Linked DNA regions of Homo sapiens: region 2 is linked to region 1. The links are contacts of gene promoters, found by promoter capture Hi-C in human tissues and cell types (Jung and others, 2019). All regions are on one chromosome and are shown on one strand. Each heading gives the region's core, a stretch centred on a gene start or on the middle of the fragment in contact. The rest is flanking DNA. Distances are from core to core; before and after follow the strand shown.

Region 1 (6,298 bases), core at 1,958-4,457:
GAGGAGGAGGCACCCTCCCTGCCTCCCTTCCCCACCCCCACCACAGGCTTAGGCCTTCCTCTCCACCTGCGGGAGCCCTGGCGTTCGTCCGCCACACCCACCTGAGGCCGGCACAGGTGCTGAGGCTGGCGGCTGAGTCCGGGTACCCCTCTACGTGGCCCTGGTAGAAGCAGTGGTCCTGCGGGGGAAGCAGGAGAGGGGTCCACAGGCTGTGCCCCCATGGCCCCACAGGCTCGGGGAGGGCCGCCCAGCCCCTACCTGCCCGCCCAGCTGCTCCGCCCGACCCATACCTGCCCGCGAGGCTGCTCCGTCACCTCGGAGCCATTGGCAGCCGTATAGGTCTCTGTGTAGCCGGAGCCCAGCAGGTCCCTGGAAAAGAAGTGCTGTGACTGCCTCGGCCCCCTCGGTGCAGAGAGGCTGGCCCAGAGGCTGGACGCCGGGGACACCAGTGTGCTGGAGCCAGGCCCGGGCAGGGGGGCCGACCCGAGACCCACTCACCTGTTCTTCCGCAGGTGGAGGGTGAAGTTGTGCCCTGTGGCCCCAAGGACGTAGCTCACCCTCTCTGGGTGCAGGCCCTGAGCGAGGAGGGAAGGGTCCCAGGTGAGCAGCCTGCCCGGGCTGTGCCCACCTCAATCCTGGGGGCCAGAGAAGCTCAGCTGGGGGGGAAGGGGTGCCGGCCTCCAGCCCCAGGTCAAGGCTCCATCCTGGAGGGTCCACAGCCTCAGGCAGGGTAGAGGGTGGAGGGTGGAGGGTAGGGGGCAGGGGGTGGGGGGTGGAAGGTGGAGGGTGGAGAGTGGAGGGTGGAGGGTGGAGGCGGGGGGCGGAGGGCAGAGGGTGGGGGGCGGGGGGTGGAGGGTGGAGGGTAGGGAACGGGGCTGTGCTGAAGGCGACCGGCGGAGCCCAGCACTTGGGTAGACAGGAAGGACACGGTGCTCCTCGGTCCTCCCAGGCCTCAGTTTCCCCATCTGACCACGCATGGGTAACGACAATGCCCCTTCCCCGAGAAAGCATAGGGTGGGGGAGGCATAGCCTCAGCCAGGCAGCAAAGGAGGTGGGTGGCGGGGATAGCACGCACAGGCCCCTCCAGCGACAGCTGCCTGCCTCCAGGACCCATCCCTTCCAGCAGCTGCCGGACCTGGTGGTGCCTGCAGAGCCTCCTGCTGGACCACTGCATCTCCAGCCCCCATGTGCAGGCTGGGGCTCGGCCTGCAGAGCTCTGGGACAGCCTTAGCTGTGCCACCGGCTGGATGAGCCCAGGGCAGCGGGCAGGTCGGTAGTAGGTTCCCCGGATGCTGAGGTAAGGACAGGGCTGGGGCCGGAACTGCCCTCCCTGGAAACAGGTGCACACATGCATATGCCGTGCACATGTGTGCACACCCACCCACTCAGGCTTCAGGAATCACCCTCGGGCAGCCCCAGTCGGGGAGGGGGGCATTCTCAGTTTCTAGCCCTGGGAAACCCCCGCCAGGCCCCCCCCCCAACACAGGAAGGTGTGTCAACTCTGCGGTGAGCCAGCGTCACTTCTCAAAGAGGAATTTGGCTTATCAGCCTCGCCAAGTGAAACTGGGGAGGGGCCCGGGGCCAGCACAACCTGCCCCTGCTCCCTTCCAGGGGTCCATAGAGCTCCTGAAGGAACGAGGAGGCTGGGAGCCCTCAGGCAGTGCTGGAGGGAGGAACGGAGATGGGCCCCAGGGGGCTAGAGCTGTACAGGGCAGCCCCAGACACCCACTGGCCTCTCACCACTTTCTGTAAGCTAAAGCTCCTTTCACAAAAATAGGCTCAGGGGCCAGCCAGGGACCCTCCCCAGGCCAGCTTAGACTCACCAAGTGGGAGGGCAGAGCTCGGCGGACTCGGGGGCCTGGCAGACGCCACGGCAACACGACCTCATACTGCTCCATGAGGGCCCAGGGCCGGCTGGGGGCAATCGCTGCAGGAGGGAGGGTCAGCAGGCATGAGGGGCCGGGGGGCAGGTTTCCTTCCCAGAGGCCTCCTGGGCCCTCAGATTCTGTCTCTTGCTGGGCTTGACCCTCCCCTGGGGAACTCACCAGATAGCTCTGGGACAAAGACTCAAGTGAGGGTTCTGTGCCTAAAAGACCCCAGGAGCGCCCCCAGGCATGGCCGGTGGGCCTGTGTCCTGCAGCACCCACACACAGTGCTCAGAGACGCTGTGGGTGCCAGCGGGTGCCAGTGACTCCACAGGTCTCCAGGCTGTCTCAGATCTCTGGAGGGGCCCGAGGGCAAGGATGAACCTTCCCCCCAGGGAGGAGGACTCGGGCCGCCGACCTGCCCGTTTCCATTCTCCTCCTCCATTCTTCTGATCATCTGATCGCATCTAACTGGGGAGCAGGAAGTGCCTCCCGGAGGCTGTTCACCTCCCAAGAACTGGAAACTCCCTGGTATCCGAGAGCAGAGGGCAGGGTCCCAGCATGCAATGGGCAGGGTTTCGGAGACCACCAACCCCAGGACCCTTTGCTCCCATTAAAACACAATAGTGGACGTGTCTCCATGACCACATCTCCAACCTGGAGAGGCAGCAGGGGAGCAGCCAGCCCCTATCTGCCCAGGAAACTGGCGGGAAGCAACCCGGCCTCCAGCCTGAAGCTCCTCAGCACACCCCAGCCCAAGTCACTCCAGGAGCAGGGGTGGGATCCAGGGTCAGCAGCCCCATGTCCTCCCCCAGGCAGGAGACGGGTCCCCTCAGCCCACACCCCTGCACTCCAGGCCTCAGCTTGTCTGCCCTCCCTTCCCTCCTCGGCTAAATAGTGGGGGTGGGTAGCCCCACAGGTGAATCCCAGGAACCCAGGGCGCCTCGCGCAGCAGGTGAAGCGTCCTGCTTGGCCCGGCCCCGACCCCACTAACAAGCTCAGAGGCGGGACTTCCCTCTCACAGTTCACCTTTGAAGGTTCCCTCCGACCTCCCCGGCCTCCCCGGCCCGGGGCTCTCCACCCAGAGACCACTGTGCACCTGATGGCCCGCTCCCAGGGACCAGCCCGAAGCCGGGCCAGGGTGCGGGGTGCGAGCAGGCCAGGGGCTCGGGGTCCGCGTCGCGTCCTGCGGGGAGAGCCACCCTGCCCCGCGCTGCGCCCGGGACGGTTCCCTGGAACCACTCACCAGGCAGCATCATCGCGCCCAGCAGCCAGAGCCCGAGGCCGCGCATGGCCGGGTCGGGGAGCAGAGGCGGAGGTGACAGCCCCGCGGGACACGGTCTGGTTCCTGCGCTCCTGGCCCGAGGCTCTTTTCCGCGCGCCCCGCCCCGGCGCCCCGCAGCCAATGGGCCCCTCGGCCGGTGGGAGGGGCGGGGCGCGCGGCACCTGGGGGCGGGGTCCGTTTCCCCTCTCCCCACAATCCAGCATCCTCCCTTGCACAGGTGAGGAAACTCAGGCACAGCCTGTCCCAAGTCCGGCCAGAGCCCCGAGAGGGGGCCTCTCGAAGGACCCGGCGGCTGGAAGGAGGTGGCGCCAGGCAGGTCCTGGAGGGGAAGGGACTTGTGAGGGCCGCCTGGCGGTTTCAGGAGAGGGGGTCTCTGATTTCCTGGGGAACAGAAAGCCTCAGGCAGGGGCAAGTCATGGCTTTGTGGGCATAGGTTCAGCCCTGTGGGAAGCTCTGCCACCCTCCCCCCCAAGCCTGCGCCCCCTCCACCAGGCTGAGGCCTCACCGGAGTGGGATAGGCATGGGCCCGCAGGCGTCCAAGTGGGGAGGGGGAGCCCTAGGTGGGGGTCCCAGCCCAGGTGATGGCAGGTGCAGGGGCCGTCCCTAGCCTAAGATCCCCAGACAGCAGCTGACGCTGGCCGACGTGGACCAAAGCCTGCAGCAGCCCACCGTGGCCTGGCTCCGGCGTCTCCAGGCCTGCGGCCAAGCGTGCTTGCCCTTGGTGACCACATTCCCCGTGGTGGGCTCAGCCTCGAGGGTGCAGGTTTGGGCTGACACCACAGCTCCCCAGACGGTCCACCCAGGACCCCTCCCTGGGGCTTTCACAGCCAGGCCGCCCTCCTGGAGTGGGAACAGTGGTGGTGGCAGGAAAGGCAGCTCAGATGACCACACAGGGCGCTGCTGACAGATCACATGGGGGGGGGGGGCCTCAGGGCCTCCCTGGGGAGAGGCAGGGCAGGGCCAGCAAGGGGCTGGAGGGAGTCCTGCCTGGAGAGAGGGCACCAGGGCAGGGCGAGTCAGGGAACTGCACGGGCCTAGGGGCAGAGGACAGAGGTCAAGGGGCAGTGGCAAGAAGAGGCCGGGGCCTCGGACGTTATCCTGGGAGGACAGGGAACCCGGAGGATCTAAGCTGGCGTGAGTGATGCTGTCACATTTTGTCTCAAAGCCATTCTTACCCTAATGTGAATGGCATGAAAAGCAAGAAAGCAAGGGCTGGCACTGGGCCGCAGGTGACTTCTGCTGCCTGGGGGTGTGTCCGCTTGCCTGTGTGGCACAGGACGAGGTCCCCCAGGCTGCCGAGAGGCTCCCAGGTAGGGCTGGGGATACTGGCCTGTGCCTGAGCTCATGCAGGTGACCCTGTTATTATAGAACAATGGCCAGCTGGCAATCACACTTCCCTTCCTTGACCTCATGGTGCAAGTTACTCAACAGCAAAGTGCAAAGGCGGCACGCTGGCCACATCAGAGGCACAGCAAGGCCCCTGCCGACGCTGAGCTACCAGGGATTTATTCCTAAAAAGACAGGACCAGCTTGGGCCAGAACAGGCTCCTCCCGCGCTGAGGAAGTTCCACCCAATCCCACAGAACACAGCTCTCCTCTTCAGCAGGTGCCGGGGGGTCTGGGAGCCTGAACCCCACAGCCCTGGAGGCTTCCCTCCCCTCCTCCTATCACCACCTGCAAACCCCACTTCTCAAGGCCCAGGGCTTCCCAGACCCCAGGACACAAGATCAGGGGTTTCTGGGCCTCGGGGCCAGGCAGGAAAGCTAGCAGGCTCCTCTGCTCACCAGTCCGGCATTTGCACAACACTGAGACTGACAGCTTGGGTTGCTGATAAATGTGTTTACTCACAGGCCAGACCTGCACAGCCTGCAGACAAGGAGGAAGCGGTTTGTGGCTGGAGAGTTGGACACCCCCACCCCCACTCGGCGGTGCTCTCAGTGAGGCAGCCCCGGGTGAGAGCTGCCCACAACCCTTGTTCCCCGCAGGATCCTGTTCTAGCTATCCTTTCTCCCAACCTCGCCTCCAGGGCCCTTCCTCACTGCCCAAGGGGGCCGAGGTGCTGAGAGCTGAAGGTGACAACAATACACATGCAGGTCAGCAGGAAGGGGCAGCTTGGCCAGAATGTAACCAGAGCAGACCAACCTGGCCGGGCAGCCCTGAGGCTCCCAGGGCCCTGTCACACTGGGGATGGCGGTGCTGCCCACTGTAGCCCTGGAGGTGGGAAGACAGGGCAGATGATCGCCCGAGGGGGATTGGGTGTCAGTCTGCTGAGTAAGTTCTACGTAACAAGGCGGTACCGGATAGGGCGGGGTGGGGTTTCCAGCCAGCAGCAGAGCCTGCCCCTCGACCCACTCCCACGGAGGGGGAGGTGTGGGCTCCCAGGGTGCCTGAGGGCCCTGTCTGTGGCCTCCTGCCCTGGACCAGTTGGAGCAGCAGCAGGAGGAGGGTCGTGGAGGCGGGTGAGTCCTCAGGAGAAGGAACGGGGCTGCCTCTGGGGCCAAAGCAAACCCGACACCCGATGCCCGGTGGGTTTCCACAACTCCCTGACCGTTTCCAGAGGCTTGTCCCGGTTCCGACAGACCTCAGGAAGCCCGGCCCCAGCTCACCCGGAAAGATGTGGACACCAGGCCTGGATCTTACCCCACATGCATCTTTGCTTGCTCCTGGCTTAAACACCATGTATTTCCACTTTGAGGCCAAAAACACCCAAAAAGGTGATAGTGTAATTTCAAAAAGCAAACAGATTAGCAAATCCAGGGAGACATCCACCCTGCCTGGGCAGCTTCTATAAAACGAAACCCAGCGCCTTGAGAAACAAAGTGAGCTGAGTCAATCATTCCTGCTTTATATTTAAACTGCAAAGACAGAACACAGAGCATTCGATTTGAAAATTCTGGACCCATTTGCACCAGTCCCTGCTGACCCCACACCCTTCCTTCCTGTCACAGCCAGGGCTCACTGTGCGGTGACTGCGACCCTGGGTGCAGGAGCCGGGGGCCCCCGCAGGACAGGCACTTGGGGGGTGGCCTTCTGGCTCCTCTCTGCAGACAGGCGCTCCAGGCGCTCCGTGTAGAAACCATTGAAGTCAAGCCTGTGAGGAAGGACAGTGGAGCTGGGGTGCACACCCCTTCTGCGGGTGCATGCTGGG
Region 2 (6,784 bases), core at 4,285-6,784, 140 kb before region 1:
CGGAGCAGGAGGGGCATAGGAGGGCCTGGCACACGTGAGAGGCCTGTCCCTCGGGCCACAGCTAGAAGATCAGTGTCTCCCAGTGAGACAGGTCAGGCTGCAAGTGGGCTCAGCAGCAAGACAAGCCCTTCATGCCCGCCGTGCTGGCTCCTCTGGGCCTGGAGGGAGGGCTGCTGGGTGAGCTGGGGCCCACCAGGGCAACTCCCAACACTGGCTGTCCAGGCCTCCTGGGGGCTGCAGGGCCAGTGCCTGAGCACAGACGTGGCTGCCCACAGACGGTCCTGCAAGGACTCAGGACCCCAGACCCCAGGCTGCATCCCCCCGGCCACAGATCTGCAGGCGGCCGACTTCCAGAGGACAAGCAGCACCGCTCAGGCCCAAGTGGGCGCCGACTTGGACCTCACACCTCTGTCCTGTGTCCCAGGAAATGACTGGGGTTGCCAGGGCCTGCCTTTCCTTCCCACTCCCATCCCAGGACGTGGGTACTGGGAAAACCACTGTTAAGAGGACACTCTTAAACTCACTCTAATTACTTCTTTTCTACATAAATATCAACAACTTCCCCTGTAATCGCAACAGACACCTTGCTCCCTACTCACAACTCCAACCACACCCAACATAGCCCTTCAGGGAGGCCTGCAGGTCAGAACCGGCAGCAGAGGCACCCAGAGCTCAAGTCCCTCCCTGCCAGCCGCCCCCCAGCCTCTCCCAGACAGGGTCACTGAACAAGCCACAGAGTGGTGCAGGGCTGACATCGGCCAGGGACAAAGCAGGTGAGTACCCATGTCTGCGCCCTGGCTCAGAGATTACTCCAAGTCCAGGTCCTAGAGGGGTGAATACCCCTGGTGTGGGATTGGCTGGTTTAGTACTCATGTCTCTGTCATGGTCCAGAAAGTACCCTTGGTCTAGGTCCTAGTGGAGTGAGTACCCTGGTGAGGGATAGCCTGGGTTAGTACCCATGTCTCTGCCCTGGTTCGGAGAGTACTCGTGGCCCACGTCTTCGTGGAGTGAGGAACTCTGGCACGTAGTGCCTCCCTGTTAGGGTTAATGCTCGTATTGGATTCATAGTGAGCTGTGTTGCTGGGTAAAATACTCGAGGTGACAGTAGCAGTCTGTGCTGCTGTAGGATGAGGACACATTTTCTGGGCTACTTTCTTGGTGCCACTGGTATGGGCTGAAATTTCACCCTCCGTGTGCCCAGGTGGCGGCGGTGGTGGTGCGTTTGCATGTGGTGGGCTGGAGCTGCGCCCGTGTGTTCTTCTGTGTGTTTGGGAGGCTGAGTTCTCGTGGTCTGAGTCGTCTCAATTGAGTACTAGGTCCTGTGTCACGTGGGCTGTGTATCTGTGGTCTGTGTCTCCTGGTAAACACTGTTTAAAATGAGTTCCGGGGTCTCTGCCTCCAAGGGAGTGCGGGACGCTGGCGTGGGCTGAGCTGCCAGGGTAAAGAATCCACTGCAGCACCTGTGGCTTCAGTGCCTCGGTGGGGTGGGGCCGATGGCCTGCAGGTGAGCAGTGTTAAAGGAAACATGGTTCAATGATGCTTGTTAAAACACGGCAGACTTCATTCGGGGCCACTGGGTCCCTGGGTGTGAGACAGCCTGGGCTGGTACCATAGGGGAGCTGGTCTCCAGGTCCCTGTTGGGGGGGTCTGGTCTCTGGGTCCCTGTGGGGGGGGTCTGGTCTCTGGGTCCCTGTGGTGGGGGGGGGTCTCTGGGTCCCTGTGGGGGCGGCTGGTCTCTGGGTCCCTGTGGGGGTGTCTGGTCTCTGGGTCCCTGTGGTGGGGGGGGTCTCTGGGTCCCTGTTGGGGGGTCTGGTCTCTGGGTCCCTGTAGGGGTTCTGGTCGCTGGGTCCCTGTAGGCGGGTCTGGTCTCTGGGTCCCTGTGGGGGGGTTCTGGTCTCTGGGTCCCTGTGGTGGGGGGGGGGTCTCTGGGTCCCTGTTGGGGGGTCTGGTCTCTGGGTCCCTGTGGGGGCGGCTGGTCTCTGGGTCCCTGTGGTGGGGGGGGTCTCTGGGTCCCTGTTGGGGGGTCTGGTCTCTGGGTCCCTGTGGGGGCGGCTGGTCTCTGGGTCCCTGTGGTGGGTCTGGTCTCTGGGTCCCTGTGGGGGGGTTCTGGTCTCTGGGTCCCTGTGGGGGCAGCTGGTCTCTGGGTCCCTGTGGGGGTTTCTGGTCTCTGGGTCCCTGTGGGGGGGTCTGGTCTCTGGGTCCCTGTGGTGGGGGGGGTCTCTGGGTCCCTGTGGGGGGGTCTGGTCTCTGGGTACCTGTGGGGGCAGCTGGTCTCTGGGTCCCTGTGGGGGGGTTCTGGTCTCTGGGTCCCTGTGGGGGCGGCTTGTCTCTGGGTCTCTGTGGGGGGGTCTGGTCTCTGGGTCCCTGTGGAGGCGGCTGGTCTCTGGGTCCCTGTAGGGGTTCTGGTCTCTGGGTCCCTGTGGGCGGGTCTGGTCTCTGGGTCTGTTGGGGGGGTCTGGTCTCTGGGTCCCTGTGGGGGGGGTCTGGTCTCTGGGTCCCTGTGGTGGGGGGGGGTCTCTGGGTCCCTGTGGGGGCGGCTGGTCTCTGGGTCCCTGTGGGGGTGTCTGGTCTCTGGGTCCCTGTGGTGGGGGGGGTCTCTGGGTCCCTGTTGGGGGGTCTGGTCTCTGGGTCCCTGTAGGGGTTCTGGTCGCTGGGTCCCTGTAGGCGGGTCTGGTCTCTGGGTCCCTGTGGGGGGGTTCTGGTCTCTGGGTCCCTGTGGGGGTGTCTGGTCTCTGGGTCCCTGTGGTGGGGGGGGTCTCTGGGTCCCTGTTGGGGGGTCTGGTCTCTGGGTCCCTGTAGGGGTTCTGGTCTCTGGGTCCCTGTGGGCGGGTCTGGTCTCTGGGTCCCTTTGGGGGGGTCCTGGTCTCTGGGTCCCTGTGGGGGCGGCTGGTCTCTGGGTCCCTGTGGGGGGTTCTGGTCTCTGGGTCCCTGTGGGGGCGGCTGATCTCTGGGTCCCTGTGGGGGGGTCTGGTCTCTGGGTCCCTGTTGGGGGGTCTGGTCTCTGGGTCTCTGTGGGGGTTCTGGTCTCTGGGTCCCTGGGGGGGCGGCTGGTCTCTGGGTCCCTGTGGGGGGTTCTGGTCTCTGGGTCCCTGTGGGGGCGGCTGGTCTCTGGGTCTCTGTGGGGGGGTCTGGTCTCTGGGTCCCTGTGGGCGGGTCTGGTCTCTGGGTCCCTGTGGAGGCGGCTGGTCTCTGGGTCCCTGTGGGCGGGTCTGGTCTCTGGGTCCCTGTTGGGGGGTCTGGTCTCTGGGTCCCTGTGGGGGGGTTCTGGTCTCTGGGTCCCTGTGGGGGCAACTGGTCTCTGGGTCCCTGTGAGAGGTTCTGGTCTCTGGGTCCCTGTGGGGGGGTCTGGTCTCTGGGTCCCTGTGGGGGGATCTGGTCTCTGGGTCCCTGTGGTGGGGGGGGTCTCTGGGTCCCTGTGGGGGGGTCTGGTCTCTGGGTACCTGTGGGGGCAGCTGGTCTCTGGGTCCCTGTGGGGGGGTTCTGGTCTCTGGGTCCCTGTGGGGGCGGCTTGTCTCTGGGTCTCTGTGGGGGGGTCTGGTCTCTGGGTCCCTGTGGAGGCGGCTGGTCTCTGGGTCCCTGTAGGGGTTCTGGTCTCTGGGTCCCTGTGGGCGGGTCTGGTCTCTGGGTCCCTGTTGGGGGGTCTGGTCTCTGGGTACCTGTGGGGGTGTCTGGTCTCTGGGTCCCTGTGGTGGGGGGGTCTCTGGGTCCCTGTTGGGGGGTCTGGTCTCTGGGTCCCTGTAGGGGTTCTGGTCTCTGGGTCCCTGTGGGCGGGTCTGGTCTCTGGGTCCCTGTGGGGGGGTCCTGGTCTCTGGGTCCCTGTGGGGGCGGCTGGTCTCTGGGTCCCTGTGAGGGGTTCTGGTCTCTGGGTCCCTGTGGGGGCGGCTGATCTCTGGGTCCCTGTGGGGGGGTCTGGTCTCTGGGTCCCTGTAGGGGCGGCTGGTCTCTGGGTCCCTGTTGGGGGGTCTTGTCTCTGGGTCCCTGTAGGGGTTCTGGTCCCTGGGTCCCTGTAGGCGGGTCTGGTCTCTGGGTCCCTGTTGGGGGTTCTGGTCTCTGGGTCCCTGTGGGGGCGGCTGGTCTCTGGGTCCCTGTGGGGGTTCTGGTCCCTGGGTCCCTGTGGGGGCGGCTGGTCTCTGGGTCCCTGTGGGGGTTCTGGTCCCTGGGTCCCTGTGGGGGCGGCTGGTCTCTGGGTCCCTGTGGGGGCGGCTGGTCTCTGGGTCCCTGTGGGGGGTTCTGGTCCCTGGGTCCCTGTGGGCGGGTCTGGTCTCTGCATCCCTGTGTGGGGGTGGCTGGTCTCTGGGTCCCTGTGGGCGGGTCTGGTCTCTGGGTCCCTGTGTGGGGGTGGCTGGTCTCTGGGTCCCTGTGGGGGCGGCTGGTCTCTGGGTCCCTGTGGGGGCGGCTGGTCTCTGGGTCCCTGTGGGGGCGGCTGGTCTCTGGGTCCCTGTGGGGGGGGTCTGGTCTCTGGGTCCCTGTGGGGGCGGCTGGTCTCTGGGTCCCTGTGGGGGGGTCTGGTCTCTGGGTCCGTGTGGGGGTGGCTGGTCTCTGGGTCCCTGTGGGGGCGGCTGGTCTCTGGGTCCCTGTGGGCGGGTCTGGTCTCTGGGTCCCTGTGGGGGGGGTCTGGTCTCTGGGTCCCTGTGGGGGCGGCTGGTCTCTGGGTCCCTGTGGGGGGGTCTGGTCTCTGGGTCCCTGTGGGGGGGCCTGGTCTCTGGGTCCCTGTGGGCGGGTCTGGTCTCTGGGTCCCTGTGGGCGGGTCTGGTCTCTGGGTCCCTGTTGGGGGGGTCTGGTCTCTGGGTCCCTGTGGGGGTGTCTGGTCTCTGGGTCCCTGTGGTGGGGGGGGGGTCTCTGGGTCCCTGTTGGGGGGTCTGGTCTCTGGGTCCCTGTGGGGGCGGCTGGTCTCTGGGTCCCTGTGGTGGGGGGGGTCTCTGGGTCCCTGTTGGGGGGTCTGGTCTCTGGGTCCCTGTGGGGGCGGCTGGTCTCTGGGTCCCTGTGGTGGGTCTGGTCTCTGGGTCCCTGTGGGGGGGTTCTGGTCTCTGGGTCCCTGTGGGGGCAGCTGGTCTCTGGGTCCCTGTGGGGGTTTCTGGTCTCTGGGTCCCTGTGGGGGCAGCTGGTCTCTGGGTCCCTGTGGGGGGGTCCTGGTCTCTGGGTCCCTGTGGGGGCGGCTGGTCTCTGGGTCCCTGTGGGGGGTTCTGGTCTCTGGGTCCCTGTGGGGGGTTCTGGTCTCTGGGTCCCTGTGAGGTGGCTGGTCTCTGGGTCCCTGTGGGGGGGTCTGGTCCCTGGGTCCCTGTGGGGGGGTCTGGTCTCTGGGTCCCTGTGGGGGCGGCTCATCTCTGGGTCCCTGTTGGGGGCTCTGGTCTCTGGGTACCTGTGGCGGGGGGGGTCTCTGGGTCCCTGTTGGGGGGTCTGGTCTCTGGGTCCCTGTTGGGGCGGCTGGTCTCTGGGTCCCTGTGGGGGTGTCTGGTCTCTGGGTCCCTGTGGTTGGGGGGGTCTCTGGGTCCCTGTTGGGGGGTCTGGTCTCTGGGTCCCTGTGGGGGGGGTCTGGTCTCTGGGTCCCTGTGTGCGGGTGGCTGGTCTCTGGGTCCCTGTGGGGGGGTCTGGTCTCTGGGCCCCTGTGTGGGGGTGGCTGGTCTCTGGGTCCCTGTTGGGGGGTCTGGTCTCTGGGTCCCTGTGGGGGGGTCTGGTCTCTGGGTCCCTGTGGGGGGGCCTGGTCTCTGGGTCCCTGTGGGCGGGTCTGGTCTCTGGGTCCCTGTGGGGGTGGGTGGTCTCTGGGTCCCTGTGGGGGGGTCTGGTCTCTGGGTCCCTGTGGGGGAGTCTGGTCTCTGGGTCCCTGTGGGGGCGGCTGGTCTCCAGGGCTCTGTCGGGGGCAGCAGGATAGTCAGTCAGTGGTGGGATTCTCACCCTGACTTGCTCTTTGGACCAAGGTGGGCTCATTGGTCAACTGGGGAGGAAGGAAGAGGCGGCAGCAAACCTCAGCAGGCAGCTGGGAAGCCACAGCGGGGCCTCGGCTCCAGGCGGTGCCTTCCGAGGATGTGAGGAAGCGCCGCCCAGGTTGGGACACAGCCCCACCCACGGGCAGCTGCCCCTGCATCTTGAGCTGCTCTGGGCCTTCTGCGGGGCCCACCTGCCTCCTTCTCAAGCTGCCTCAGCTCCGCAGTCCTCCCCCAGGGCACTCTGGGGAGTCAGGGCTGCAGGGAATTTCTCCTCCTTCTTCAAAGGTGACCCCGGGGGCAGGTCCCGGCGCCTGGGAAGGGAACTTGCACAGCTAAATTCCCGCTGGACCCTGAGGCTGGACTCGCAGTCTGGACACCGACCTCCGGAGCCCTGAGTGGGTCGTCCCTGCCCTGCCCCTTCACTGCCCCTGCCCTGCCCCTGCCCCTGCCCCGTGCTGCCCCTGTCTTGCCCCTGCCCCTGCCCTGCCCTGCCCCTGCGCTGCCCCTGTGCTGTCCCTGTGCTGCCCCTGCCCCTGCCCTGCCCCTTCACTGCCCCGCCCCTGCCCCGCCCCTGCCCCGCCCCTGCCCTGCCCCTGCCCTGCCCCTGCGCTGCCCCTGTGCTGTCCCTGTGCTGCCCCTGCCCCTGCCCTGCCCCTTCACTGCCCCGCCCCTGCCCTGCCCCTGCCCCGCCACCCTGGCCTACATCCACTTCTCCATCCGGCCTGGTCTCCAGAGTGAGATGCGGCTCCAGCACGTCCCTGACGCCTCTGACCCTCCAGGGCTGTGAGCCCGTGCCCCCTCACACTCCTTCACAGGACCCCCGGCCCACAGGCAAACCGGGGGAGAGAGGGCCAAGCTGG

Evidence for each region. Contacts are between HindIII fragments. The study calls those that stand out against the background at their distance.
Region 2: a fragment that was not itself captured here is called in contact with the fragment with the promoter of ADAM8 in region 1 in 1 of the 25 tissues and cell types used here (H1 embryonic stem cells).

What each region holds. Positions count from the first base shown.
Region 1 is chr10:133,273,661-133,279,958 of GRCh38, forward strand. It overlaps ADAM8 (ADAM metallopeptidase domain 8), which reads right to left and starts at 3,208. Exons shown (of 23, transcript NM_001109.5): 1 at 3,112-3,208; 2 at 1,824-1,927; 3 at 499-575; 4 at 291-369; 5 at 102-178. The coding sequence starts at 3,157. TUBGCP2 (tubulin gamma complex component 2) reads right to left here. Exons shown (of 18, transcript NM_006659.4): 18 at 4,975-6,241. The coding sequence ends at 6,106. RefSeq lists enhancers at 701-1,350, 1,388-1,647, 2,651-3,298, 4,613-4,662, 5,153-5,232 and a silencer at 2,898-3,457. The HindIII fragment of the contact is 31,119 bases long and covers 1-6,298 here.
Region 2 is chr10:133,133,773-133,140,556 of GRCh38, forward strand. No RefSeq gene overlaps it. Among named protein-coding and RNA genes, the nearest start is that of KNDC1, 23 kb to the right of the region's middle. RefSeq lists an enhancer at 6,521-6,784. The HindIII fragment of the contact is 9,815 bases long and covers 628-6,784 here.